Linked DNA regions of Homo sapiens: all the other regions are linked to region 1. Evidence: promoter capture Hi-C in 16 types of primary human blood cells and fetal thymus (Javierre and others, 2016). All regions are on one chromosome and are shown on one strand. Each heading gives the region's core, a stretch centred on a gene start or on the middle of the fragment in contact. The rest is flanking DNA. Distances are from core to core; before and after follow the strand shown.

Region 1 (4,472 bases), core at 1,363-3,862:
GGGCCACCATGGGCCTGCTGACTGGGCCACATCTGGGGCTCAGGCATTGGCTGCCCCTCCCCCACGGCTGGCCACTGAGAACTGACAGGGAGGCTGGGGTGGGAGCGGCTTCCAGGCCTCTCACCCCATCCCCACGGGGTGGCCTGGCTTGTGCCCCACCCTCCCTGGGGATGCTGCAAGGCAGAGGTGAGAGTCCGAAGCTGGCTACGTTGGCATCTTGATCTGCCAGCAGTCCCCCACACCTCTGGCCTCTGTTTAGTGGCTTGTCAAACAGTGGTTGGGTGGGGTAGGTTTTTCCAGCTTTTACGTGCTGCCTTGAAGGGTCCCGAGAGGCTTCAAGTTGAGCCACTCTGAAGCGGGATGATTCTCTAGGTCTGGGATTCCAGAATTATCCGCTCCCAAGGTTTCAGAGGTCCAGGATTCTGTAGATTTTTGTTTGTTTGTTTGTTTGTGTTTGGAGACAGGGTTTTGCTCTGTCGCCCAGGCTGGAGTGCAGTGGTGCAAACATGGCTCACTGCAGCCTCACTGCAGCCTCAACCTCCTGGGCTCAAGCGATTCTCCTTCCTCAGCCTCCCCAGTAGCTGGGATCACAGGCATGTGCCACCGTGCCTAGTTAATTTTTTAATTTTTTGTAGAGACAGGGTCTTGCCATGTTGCCCAGGCTGGTCTCGAACTCCTGGCCTCAAGCAATCCTCCTGCCTCAACCTCCCAAAGTGCTGGGATTACAGGTGTGAGCCACTGGAGCCTGACTGGATTCGGTAGTTTGAAGATGCCACCATACATTCATTCAACACATTTATTGAGCACCTACTGTGTGCCAGGTCATGTTCTTGGTGTTGAAGCTATAGCAGTGACCGATACAGAAAAATATCTTGCCCTCGTAGGGCTTCCATTCTAGAGCAAGAAGGATAATAACAGAAACTAAATAGGAATCTTTTACATGGTGAGCAAGAAAGGCCTAGGTAGGGAGAACTGCTTTAGGTAGGCTGGTTGGGGACATGACATTTGAGCTGAGACCAACTGCTACAAAGAAGTAGCCATGTGGAGACAAGCATTGTAAACAGATGGAATAGCATGTGCCAAGGCCCTGTGGCAGGTGTAGGCCTTGCATGTTTGAGCAATGGCAAGGAGGTCTTGGTGGCTGTTATTCAGTGAGCAATGGAGAGAGGGGAAGAGCTGAGGCCAGTGGTAGAGGCGGGGCCTGAGAAACCAGAGCAAGACATTCAGATATTGTTTTGAGTGCAAAGGGAAACTTAGTTTTGCAAAGGAATGACATGATCGGATGTATGTTTCAGAAAGGGTGATTTGGGAGAACTGAAGGGGATATCAGTGAGACGAGAGGCTGTGCAAGTTGGGCAGGACAGAGATGTGGAGGCAGTCAGTCATAAGGGTGAAGGCAGGGGCACAAGGACAACCGCTTTATCCTGGACTTATATCGAGTTAGAACCTCCAGGTTTCATTATACCAGACAGGGCCACGGCAAAGGAGAGTTCGGATTCCCGGGGCAGCCAGGATTTGGCTCTGAACTTTAATGACCTTGAAACTCTTAGGCAGGGCGGGGAGCGGTGGCTCATGCCTGTAATCCCAGCAGTTTGGGAGGCCAACGTGGGCTGATCACCTAAGGTCAGGAGTTCGAGACCAGCCTGGCCAACATGAGGAAACCCCGTCTCTACTAAAAATACAAGTTAGCCCAGCGTGGTGGCGCCTGTAATCCCAGTTACTGGGGAGGCTGAGGCAGGAGAATCGCTTGAACCGAGGAGGCAGATGTTGCAGTGAGCTGAGATCGCGCCATTGCACTCCAGCCTGGGCGACAGAGCCGAACTCCATCTCAAAAAAAAAAGGAGCTTTTAGACCTGCATTGTCCAATACCACAGCCACACGTAACTGTTTAATTACAATTAAACAAAATGAAAAAATCAGTTCCTCAGTCTCAATAGGCACATTTCCAGTGCTCACTTGTGGCCAGTGACTACCATACTGAACAACACAGGGAACATTTCCATCATCACAGCCACAGGACAGGGCTTCCTGGCAGTCCTTAATGCATTGAGCCTCAGTTTCCCCATCTGTAAAATGCAGGTAACAACAGCATCTCCTTGATAAGGTGCCTGTGAGGAGTACATGAGATAATGCCTGTGTGGCCTGGCACATAACACACGTTCCCTAAATGCAGGTTGTTATTGTTGCTGAGCGGGGTGTGTGGGTGGCTAACGAGAGGGATGGGGGCTGTCTCTGAGGTTTGGATTCGGAATCGTGACATCTTGTCCCGTGCAAGACGAAGGCGAGGACGGCGAGGGCACACCCTTCCAGTCCCGACCCCACAGAGGCCAAGCGGCCCTTCGCCCCCACCCCGACCCGGGAAGGCCCCGCGCCCCTCAAGCCTGGGACGGTCTCGCGTCCCCCGACCCGGGACGGCCCCGCGCCCCGCAAGCCTAGGACTGCCCAGCGCTGAGCGCCGCCTGCAGGAGTCGGGAGCGTGGTGCCCGCGGCCGGGCTGGGCGCGGCGCGGGCCGGCAGGGGGCGCTGGGCGCGGCGGGCGGGGCGCGTGGGGCGGGCAGGGGCCGGGCCAGGGACGCGCGGGGGGCAAGCGCGGCGGCGGACCGGGCGGGACCGTAGCCGGAGCCCAGCCGGGACTGTCGCGCGGGCCGCGCCGGCGATGCCGCGCCCCCGGGCCGGGCTGTAGCGGGGCCGCGGCTGGAGTGTGCGCCGGGCAGGCGGGACATGGAGGTGGTGGACGAGACGGAGGCGCTGCAGCGCTTCTTCGAAGGTGAGAGACCGCGGGCTGGCGGCGGCGACCCTCTGGCGCTGGGAACCCCCGGCTGATCTCCCCGGGAACTGGGGCTCCTCGCTGTGTTTCCGCCTCCTCTGGCTGGGACCCTCCTTCAGGCTGGCACCAGCCCGCCAAGACAGGCTCCCGGGGCTGGGAGTCCCCCAGCGGTTACCACCCACCGCCGCTGAAGTTGGGCTCCCCCTCCCCGCTCCTCAACTCGCAGCTTCCTTGGGACTGTGTCCCCTTCCAGGTCCGGACTCCTTTGAGCCTTCCAGGACCCGGAACTTTCCCTAAATTGTGACACTCTCGCCCCCAGCAAACTTCCCGAGTCTGGGGACCCTCTACTTTGCTTCCCCAGAACCCCAAGCGGGATACAACCCCATTCAAGGCCCAGACCCCCGGTGTGCCTTCTAGGACCTTCCGTACCTCTTGAGGCTGGACCCCAGCCTGCTTCCCAGAATCTGTGACCCCCGCCTAGAGACCAAGACCCCCTGTGTGCCCTTCTGGTTGGCGCCATCCCCCATGACTTCTAGGAGCTGGGACCTCCCCACTGTGCTTCCATGAGGGTAGGACCACTTTCGAGCCTGGATCCCCTTGGAGACTGCCACCTGCTTTCCACAATGCTGCCTAGTGACTGCTCTCCTGTTTGGGGCTGGGACCCCCCTCCCTAGCATGCTCTCCTGGGGCTGGAACCTTCTTGAAGCTGACATCCCTGCCACCGGTCACCTCTGCTCTCTGAGACCCTTCTAGTGCTGTGAACTGCATCCCACCAGCCCTCTGAGGCTCCTCAGCACTATGTCCCCCCAACCCTGGAGCTGTGCCTCTCTGACCTCGCCCCCTCAAAGAGTGACCTCACCCCCACTTGACCGAAAGGAGCCCTCTGGGGTGGAATTGACATACACCCCATAATATCTTCTTCTGCCCCCACCCCTACATTGGTTTTGGAGGTCTGCTCCTCCATCTAACCAACTCCCTGTCTTTTCCTGGACGACCCCTGCCCCTCCTGCAGGGCCACCACTCCTCCTGGTGCTGGGTTCTGGAGGGATGGGACCGCAGTGGGAGGGGGAGGGGAAGTTCTGGCTGACTGCCTCCCAGCCCACTCCGCTTCTCAGAACCTCCCTGGAACATCTAGCCAGACCCTCTGGCCCCCTTTTGTGCCCCTGTCTACCAATGCAGCGAGCCCAGCCCCTGCCCCGAGCTCCCTCTAGTCCCTAAGGCCACATCCTGCTCCTTGGTGCATTGAGAACCTTCCCTTCATGTGTGAACCTATCAGGGCTACAGGGCAGGGAACCAAGGCCCAAGTTTCAAGCCCCAGATTCCTGTGGAGTCCTGTGGAGGAGAGAAGCAGGTCTTCCGGTGCCTCAGTTTCTCTCCCTCTGTGACTTGGGAGGCAGGAACCCTTGTTCACACCTGCTGGCTGAGCAGCCCAGGCAGGGGCACCCCTAAGCCTCAGTCATCCCACTCCAGGATTCTGGACACCCCACAGACCCAGAACCCAAGAGTTCAGGCTTGGACTAGATTGAATGGTTGACTCTGCATCAGGTGGGCCATCTGAGGGTCTTAGGCAGCCCTGCATCTGTCCCGGGGCTCTGGCTCTCCCCAGACACTGTTGATCCATAGGAGCTCTCGAGGGGCCTGACGCGGTTTGAGACCTTCAGGGAAGAGGGGACCAGACATTCGTGCTTGCTTGGGTTACTGTCTG
Region 2 (4,472 bases), core at 512-3,011, 440 kb after region 1:
TTTTAGTAGAGACGGGGTTTCACCATGTTGGCCAGACTGGTCTCAACCTCCTGACCTCAGGTGATCCACCCGCCTCGGCCTCCCAAAGTGCTGGGATTATAAGTGTGAGCCACTGCGCCTGGCCAGACCTGGTAAATTTTACACACACACACACACACACACACTCATTTGAACATCTATCAACCCAATGATGTAGGCACCATTTTTAACCTACTTTTACAAACGAGAAAACTGTGTTTACATAAACTAATTTTCAGAGGGTTCAATAGCCCATAGACATGGATCTGAACCCTCCTAGCCATGGGCTTTGCCACTGGACCTTCCACTCCTTAGGGTTGGAGGCAGAGGTGGCATCAGGGGCTTCCCCACCATTTTGGGTGATGGAAGTGAGAGGCATTGTCGCCCTCAGCTGGGACTCAGCCAGACCTGCCAAGGTGTCTCTGATGACACAGACCATAAGGTCCGCTTCCTTCATAAAGGTCTTTCTGGGTGGTTCTCAGTACTGCTGCCCATCAGACCCACCAGAGCAGTTTAAACAGAAGAGGACCTCGCCCTAGAACTACTGAATCAAAATCCCCAGAAAGGGAAGCAGCCTGCGGGGAGTCAGTATAGTTTAAGAGCCCCAAGTGATTTGATTGCAGAGCAGAGAATGGAAAGCTCTGGCCTGGGCTGTGACTGTTCTCAAATGTGTGTTCACTTAAGAGCCAAATTTCTGGTGATTTCCTACTCACCAAATGATGGCACTGCAGTGGAAGGGCAGAAGGGTGTCTATTGCTTTTGCTGGGGATGGCCTTCGCTTTCCATCAACAATGAGATGACCCAGGCAGCAGAGCTGGGTTAGAAGTGGAAAACTTGAGCCCAGAGGTTAGAGGGAAGTGACCACCCACCCTGTTCATCCATCTCTTCCTTTCCATTATCGTCCCTGCCTAGAAGCGAAGACCAGTATTTCTGATGCCTGTTTGCCTCCAGACACCCCAGCAGCTCCTTGGGTAAAAAAAGTTGGGCAATTTAATCATCCCATCAGCCCTATGAGGAGATATGGGTGGCTAGAGGTCACTGGAGGCTTGCTTTTAGTAGACAGAAAATTTGAACCTGTGCTATGTTGACAACTCCACCCATAAATAAAGACACAGATCTTGGAGTGAGACAGAGTAGAGGACAGGGGGAGTGGTTGTTTTCCCCAAGGAAATCCTCCAAAGGTGGGGTGTATGCAGCTATGTTTTAGGTACCTATGTGGTGAAGATGGTGGGGATGGAAGGGGCTGAGTGGGAGGATAGGTCTGGTTCAGACTTGATCTATGTGCAGCTGAAACACGTGTGGCTGATTGTCAGACATGCAGTGGAGGTCAAAGTGGGGTCTCTTCTGTGCCTGCTCTCCTATAACCAAACCACAGCCCCTAGCTTCCTGCACCCCCGGTTTCTGTCCTCCTGAAATGAGAACTCACATTTGCCCTTGCACTGACATAAAGAACAGAGAGATAATCCTCAAAAGCCCAAAAGCAAACTGAGGTTCCAGGGAACATTGCCAGAGGCACCTGGACACTCACCTGGAGCACAGAGCAGAGTTTCTGCAGGGCTGCCCTCCCGTGCTCCGCCCCACTCAGGATGCAGGGAGGTGTGGGGATGTGACACTGATGGATGGCAGCAGCCCTGGCTAGGAAGGGAGGGCTGGAAGCCAGGCCTCATCACCTGCCAGATGCCCATGTGGGCAGGACCAGCCAGGCTCCCTAGGTACAAATAGCCCTGGGCTCCACGGCTCCACAGGCTCCCGGGGCTGAGTCTAAATCACTCATCATTGGTTAAAGCCGAGCTCACAGCAGAATAAGCCACCATGAGGCTGTCGGTGTGTCTCCTGCTGCTCACGCTGGCCCTTTGCTGCTACCGGGGTGAGTACATCAGTCATGAGTCCAGCACCAGCCCTTGGGACACACCCTTCTCTGAGCACGAGGTCACCTATTAAGGTTAAGGTTGGGGTCTGGAACAAACCAAAATTCCAAACCTTATCCTGTGCTTGTTGAAGGAACTGCTCATAAAGCTCGGGCCTCATTTCATCAAATCCCCAGTACCTAGGAAGTTTTGCAGAAAATCAATGCAGGCGAACGTTAGGAATTCTGCCTGAGCTTCACTCTTGGATGGGATCTGTGTCAGATGATGTAATGTGAGGTCTGGGGTGACTCTGGGCTCAGCCACTTCTCAGCCCTTTCACCGTGGGCAAGATGCTCACCCTCCCCGCGCCTCCTCCTATCTCTGGTGCTTAGAGCTTCTTCCGGGAGTGGCAATGGGAATGGAGTGGGATTATTGTGCCAAGGGTCTAGCTGTGGATGTGAAGCCAATCACTGTACTGTCAGACATTCTCGTCCCCAGACCTTTAGGTGCCAATTGAGCTCACAGCTTCTTACATTGTAAATTCAGACTCATAAAATGTTACATCTCGAAGGATCCTTGGAGAACTCTCAGTCCAAGAAGAGATGGTGCTTTCTGATTCTCTCAATAAGAAGCCTGCAAATGAATTCTTAGAATAAGCAGCACTCAATATATCTTCTAGGGGTCCTACCGTAATGGTGGTAGAAATACTACAATGGTTAGCCTCAGAACTTCTATTTTTCTAAAATTAATTCTGGCTGATTTTTCCCCAGTTCATTTGGGTACTTTCCTTTCCCCTGTCAGGACCGATCCAGACTCTGATTTTTCTCTTTCCTCTTCTTTTCTGAACCTCTCCCTGTTTCCCTGTGACACCCCGATCCTACCCTCTCCAAATTCTCCCCACAGTTTGAAGTCGGGTAGTCAGGGGTCATGTTGAGCATGGTGGGGCGCTTTCTGGATGCATGGTGTTTGCAAAAGACTTAGGTGAATGGAGATTCCAGACCAAGCAAAATGATTACTCCAGGTCTTTCCAAAATTCCCAGTGGGAGCAGGAATGAGCCTCAGTTCCCTCCTCTCATCCTCTCCAAATATTCTAGATGCTGCTGCAGAATATGGGCCAAGTACAATTTCCTGTATAAGCTTCTAATGTGTGTTAAAACTGATTCACATTATTTTATTTTGTTTTAATTTGTTTACCTTTTAGCTCTGTCTGTATTGAATCACATAAGCCTAAATTCTACAACTTGTTCTCAAAACATCACCTTCAACATTTCAATAATTTTAACTTCTTCTGTTCCAGATTTACTCATTTCTCTAATTTCTGATAGGATTCTGACTCTACCATTCCACTTCAAAATTTGATTACTCAAAGCCTCCTCTTCACCAATGTCCAAGACTAATAAAGTGTCACTTAACTGGCATAGAAAAGTGATTATTTTCAAATCTAGAAAAGAGAACGTTGGCCATCCATCCAGAGAAGCTTTGGAAAGTAATGAGTGTGCTTTAAAAAAAAAACAAAGACTGAATGAGTGATCAGGAAGTTGGTTCTCCAGTTCTAGCTCTACCCTTTGCTGTGTGACCTCAAGGAAGTCACAACCTCCTGGGTCTGACATTGTCATTGGCATAGTTATTGAATAGAAGCCTAAAACCCTGGGGTTCCTGTCTGGTCTGACATCAGGGAGGCATGGGAGAAACACTGATTTCCTTACACAAATTATATTTTTATTCTTTTGCTCCAGCAAATGCAGTGGTCTGCCAAGCTCTTGGTTCTGAAATCACAGGCTTCTTATTAGCTGGAAAACCTGTGTTCAAGTTCCAACTTGCCAAATTTAAGGCACCTCTGGAAGCTGTTGCAGCCAAGATGGAAGTGAAGAAATGCGTGGATACGATGGCCTATGAGAAAAGAGTGCTAATTACAAAAACATTGGTAATTTCTGTCTCTTTCATGTGTCCAGGCTTCTGGTCAGCGGCACAGTGTGAAGTGAGGTCAGCTTGCTTGCTGCTCTGTGAGGGACACAGGTGGTGGGGCACCTGCCTTACTGGTCACCGCTTGAGAAGGTCACCTGGGACCACAGGGTGGGTGCTACCATTTCACCTGCAGAATTCAACTCAGCTGCACACAGCCTCCTGCATGTTCCTCCTTCTCAGGTCACCTACCTGGATGCCGTGTCCCCAGAGTGTGCTGAGGACATGGGGAGTGAGCCTGGGTCCAGGCAGGGGTGGTGAAGGGCCAAGCACAACTGTCTCTCCACCTGGGGACTTTCCTGAGGCCAAGTGGACCTCACACAGTCACTGTGGAATGTACTGGGGAGTGTGGGAGCCTTGAACAGGGAGAAGAAGGCAGGGAGGGACCTAGAGCAGGGGCTCCTGCAGATGCTGCGCTGGAGGGCTGGACTTCTCTGCAGCTTCTGCAGAACCAGGAAGGAGCCCCTCCCAGCTCCTCAGACTCCACGCTCCCCTCCTCACCCACGATGCTCTCCTGACCACGGCCAGTGGGCCAAGACCCTCGCTACTCTACCTCCTGCAGTGCCATGGAAGCGGGATGTTCTCACTCTGTCTTTCTCAAGAAATCAGAGGTTTTCCAGGGGCCTCTCAGCCTGGCTGCCTCTG
Region 3 (4,472 bases), core at 847-3,346, 420 kb after region 1:
TATTTCCCAAAATTTCTAAAGAATGGCGGGCACAGTTTGAGACCAGCCTGAGTGACATAACAAGACCCTGTCTGTATTTATTAAAACAAACAAAATAATAAAGTCTCCAAGACACACAGGCTTGCCTAATAACTTTAATTTGTTTGGAAAAGCCCTGCCCTCTAAGTGAAAAGCTGTCACATGAAAAAAATATTGCCATTACTTTGTTCAATTCTTTTATTGCAGTAAAATACACAAAACATGAAAATTACCATCTTAATCGTTTTTTTAAATAATTTTAAAATGTATATATCAGTGGTATTAAATACATTTTGTAATTTTGTGCAACCATTACTGCCATCTATCTCCAGAGTGCTTTTCATCTTGCAAAACTGAAAAGTTATACCCATTAAACAATAATTTCCTATTCCTCCCTCCCCCGTCCCCTGGCAATCACCATTCTACTCTCTGTTTCTATGATTTTGACTATTTTACATACATATAAGTGGAATCATACGTTATTTGTCTTTTTTTATGTAACTGACTTATTGCACTTAACATGTCTTCAAGATTTATTCATGTTGTAGCATGTAGTTTTCCTTCCTTTTTAAGGCTAGATAATATTCCCTTGTATGTATGTACTATATTTTGATTATTCATGTGTCTGTTGATGGACACTTGGGTTGCTTCTGTGTTTTATTGTGAATAATGCTGCTGTGAACATGGATGTACAAATCTTTTTTTGAGACTCTGCTTTCAATTATTTTGTGTATACCCTGAAGGGGAATTGCTGGATCATGTGGTAACTCTATTTTTACTCTATTTCTGGCCTTTCTATTTTATTCCATTGGTCTACATGGCTGTCTTTATGCCAGTACCACATTGTTTTGATTACTGTCACTTTGTAGCAAGTTCTCCAGCTTTGTTCCGTCTTTTCAAGATTGCTTTCACTATTTGGGGTTCCTTGATATTCCATATGGATTTTATAATTGTTTTTTCTATTTCTGGAAAAACCATTTTTGGGATTTTGATAGGGATTGCATTGAATCTTTGGGTAGTATTGACATCTTAACAACATTAAGTCTTCTGTTCTCTTGCCTCAGGCGTCCCACGTCCACCGATTCCTCCTCCCTCGTTGCTGAGTCCTTGGCTGGCATCAGAAAAATGGCTACAAACTTCTCAGTATATGAGAAGATCTGGTTTGACAAGTTCAAATATGACATTGCAGAAAGGAGATTGTACGAGCAAATGAACGGGCCTGTGGCCAGCACCTCCCGCCAGAAGAATGGCGCCAGCGTGATCCTCCATGACATTGCGAGAGCCAGAGAGAACATCCAGAAATCCCTGGCCAGAAGCTCAGGCCCCAGGGTCTCCAGCGGCCCCAACGGAGAACACAGCGAGCTTGTTGTCCTGATCGCCAGTCTGGAAGTGGAGAACCAGAGGCTGAGCAGCGTGGTGCAGGAGCTGCAGCAGGCCATGTCCAGGCTGGAGGCCCAGCTGAACGTGCTGGAGAAGAGCTCTGCTGGCCACCGGGCCACAGTCCCTCAGACCCAGCACGTGTCTCCCATGTGCCAAGTGGAGCCCTGGCCAAGAAGCCAACCACACCAGCAGAGGATGACAAGGGCAATGACATTGACCTTTTTGGCAGCAACAATGAGGAGGAGGACGAGGAGGCAGCACAGCTGCGGGAGGAATGGCTGCCATTTCCCCCAGTAATTAGAAAAGCCTTATTGTGAGGTTTTTGATACCTTTTTATAGTTTTATGTTGTCATCTTTGTTTTAAGGAATATGTGAAGTTGTTTCAAAATTGGGAACAAGAATTGTCACATTCTTTTGTTTTTTCTTCATATTTTCTCCATATTTTTCTTGTTTTCCTCTTTTGCCCTCCAGTCCTGGGAGGAAAGTAAGTGTCATGGGTGAGGACTTTCCACTTCCTGGACCATTGGAGTCTCTGGGACCATCCACAGTCCCTAAGCCTGGGAAAGTGCTCTGTTCTTTAGCATATTAAAAATGGCCCTAGCCTGTCCTTAAATGACTCTAGAGGGGTCATTCAAGTGCATGTTTGTATGTGGAAAGATGATTAATATGTCACATATGGCTTAAAGGAGCCAGCAGGATCTTGAGACACAGTAAAAATATCCCCCCGCCACCCTTCAGAGGTGGGGAATTTTGATTCCTCCCTGGTAAATCTCTGTCAAATTACTAATTATTGATCTCTGATAATTACCAATTATTGATCCCTAACTCATGACTGTCTCCTTTACAGCTGGTGAGCAAGCCACTGATTCTAGACTTTCATGACTTTCTGATGACTTCCTGATGACTTCCTACTGACCAAATGATAAACCGCTCAGAATTTCCTGTCTGCACTGTGTGGGATAGTGTCCCCTGAGCCACCTTCTTTCTCAAATTGCTGTTATATTGTCTTAATCCACAAGGAAGGTCTTGTGTGAACATATGTATACATCCAGAGTGTTCTGGTAGAATTATAGCTCCCCTTGCACTAAGGGGTGCCCGGGGCACTTACATGATGTGTACTTGTTGTTAACCACCGCTCCCCAGGGGCTGGATCTTATCCCCTGTGCATAATCAGAAGCAGTTTCCCTAGTCTTGGTTCACCTGGTTGCAGTTCTCACCCTCTTCCTAGGAGTCCACTCTGCTGAGTTCCCATCAGGTCTTCTTCTGCACTGACTCTATGCCAGGTAGCTGGAGGTTAGACTGTTCCTTCAGCCTAGGTACTTTCTTTCTTCACCTCTTCATCATGTCCTCCAAAAAGCCTCCTATGTATAGGTTGGTTTACGTGGCCATTTTTTTTTTCTTTCTTTCTTTCTTTTGTTTTGTTTTGTTTTTTTTGTTTGTTTGTTTTTTGAGACGGGGTCTGGCTCTATCACCCAGGCTGGAGTGCAGTGGTGCGATCTCGTCTCACTGCAACCTCTGCCTCCCAGGCTCAAGCGATTCTCCTGCCTCAGCCTCCAGAGTAGCTGGGATTATAGGCGCGCGCCATCAGGCCTGGCTAATTTTTGTATTTTTAGTAGAGACAGGGTTTCACCATGTTGGTCAGGCTGGTCTCGAACTCCTGACCTCGGTGATCCACCCGCCTCGGCCTCCCAAAGTGCTGGGATGACAGGCGTGAGCCACAGCGCCCGGCCCGTTTTATTCTTTTAATTACCAAAGGCTGGCCTGTAGTAGGAGATGTCTGATGAGTTTTTCTTAAATTGAACGCCAACAATAAGGTTTGAGCCTCAAGGTGGCGCCATTTCATGTAGAGTCTGGAATCTCTGAACACTTGAAATAGACCATCCGTCACTAGCAGGAGCCCTTGCGTTCCGTTCCTGGATGCCGTTCTCAAAGTGAACACAATGAAATACAAGTTTCACTCGTGTTTGCATAAGGTCAAAACAACTGACAGGGTCGTTTCTTCTTGAGAGGACTGTGCGTTATCCTAGCAGGTGTATATACTATTTATCTCGTCAGATTTCTTACCAAGGAGACAGAAGCTGAGAAGAAATGAGATTAGGGGTTGTCTATCAAGGACAGAGGGAAAGAAGGGGGTAGCTGCGACTGTGTTTGTGGTGTGTGGGATGAAAAGGAAGATTTGAAGGATAAAACTAGAAGGGAAGTGAAGATGACTCCAAAGTGCCTTATTTGGAGCGGGATGAGACTGACTGGATGGTTCATGTTAAAGGGATCGTCTCAGCACAGCTGAGGGTTTTTCACACATACTATTATTTAATTCTACTGACTTTCACGTAAAGAAAGTGTAGTCTTTATTTACTGAGACTTAAAAAGATTAAATGGCTTTTCCAAGCTCACACAGTCCATATAACCCAGAGATGGGAAAATATATCTGGACCCCAAATCCTTAATTTTACTTGTCTGCCTGCCCGCCTCTTCCCTGTTGAACCTGGGGAGGCATCAGGGCATCCTGTTAGTGGTGTCCCACAGATAGACAAATTTTACCCTGGATTACGAAAAGCTGGATTAGCTTTCTTACTTAAACAATACTGGGGCCGGGCGTGGTGGCTCATGTCTGTAATCCCAGCACTTTGGGAGGCTGAGGCAGGCAGATCATGAGGTCAGGAGATCGAGACCATCCTGGCCAGCATGGTGAAACCCCGTCTCTTCTAAAATACAAAAAGTAAATTAGCTGGGCACGATGGCGCCTGCCTGTAGTCCCAGCTACTCGGGAGACTGAGGCAGGGGAATCGGTTGAACCTGGGAGGCGGAGATTGCAGTGAGCCAAAATCACGCCACTGCACTGCAGCCTGGCAACAGAGCAAGACTCTGTCTGAAAACAAAACAAAACAAGAAATAATACTGGAACTTCTTTCCCTGCTGTTGCTCCAATTCCCTTCCCTGGATTATTTTCCTCTTTGTCACTACCACACATCTAGAAAGATTAGCATTTCTATTACAGAAGCAAATGTCAAAAGGAGATTTAGAGGGAGTTACAGTTGCTTAAAAAAAAAAAAACCCCTGCCCTTTGCCATCAC

What was found. Contacts are between HindIII fragments. The CHiCAGO score rates a contact against its expected background, and 5 or more counts as called.
Region 2: the fragment with the promoter of SCGB1D1 here is called in contact with the fragment with the promoter of MYRF in region 1 in 4 of 17 cell types (naive B cells, neutrophils, total CD8 T cells and 1 more); the score reaches 7.6 in naive B cells.
Region 3: a fragment that was not itself captured here is called in contact with the fragment with the promoter of MYRF in region 1 in 1 of 17 cell types (neutrophils); the score reaches 6.0 in neutrophils.

The regions. Positions count from the first base shown.
Region 1 is chr11:61,750,024-61,754,495 of GRCh38, forward strand. It overlaps MYRF (myelin regulatory factor), which reads left to right and starts at 2,613. Exons shown (of 27, transcript NM_001127392.3): 1 at 2,613-2,767. The coding sequence starts at 2,722. It overlaps MYRF-AS1 (MYRF antisense RNA 1), which reads right to left. Exons shown (of 4, transcript NR_026882.1): 4 at 4,006-4,422. RefSeq lists silencers at 2,403-2,542, 2,663-2,762. The HindIII fragment of the contact is 15,547 bases long and covers 1-4,472 here.
Region 2 is chr11:62,188,455-62,192,926 of GRCh38, forward strand. It overlaps SCGB1D1 (secretoglobin family 1D member 1), which reads left to right and starts at 1,762. Exons shown (of 3, transcript NM_006552.2): 1 at 1,762-1,885; 2 at 3,602-3,789. The coding sequence starts at 1,831. RefSeq lists an enhancer at 3,816-4,316. The HindIII fragment of the contact is 8,999 bases long and covers 1-3,000 here.
Region 3 is chr11:62,168,150-62,172,621 of GRCh38, forward strand. It overlaps the pseudogene EEF1DP8. Among named protein-coding and RNA genes, the nearest start is that of SCGB1D1, 20 kb to the right of the region's middle. The HindIII fragment of the contact is 5,233 bases long and covers 1-4,472 here.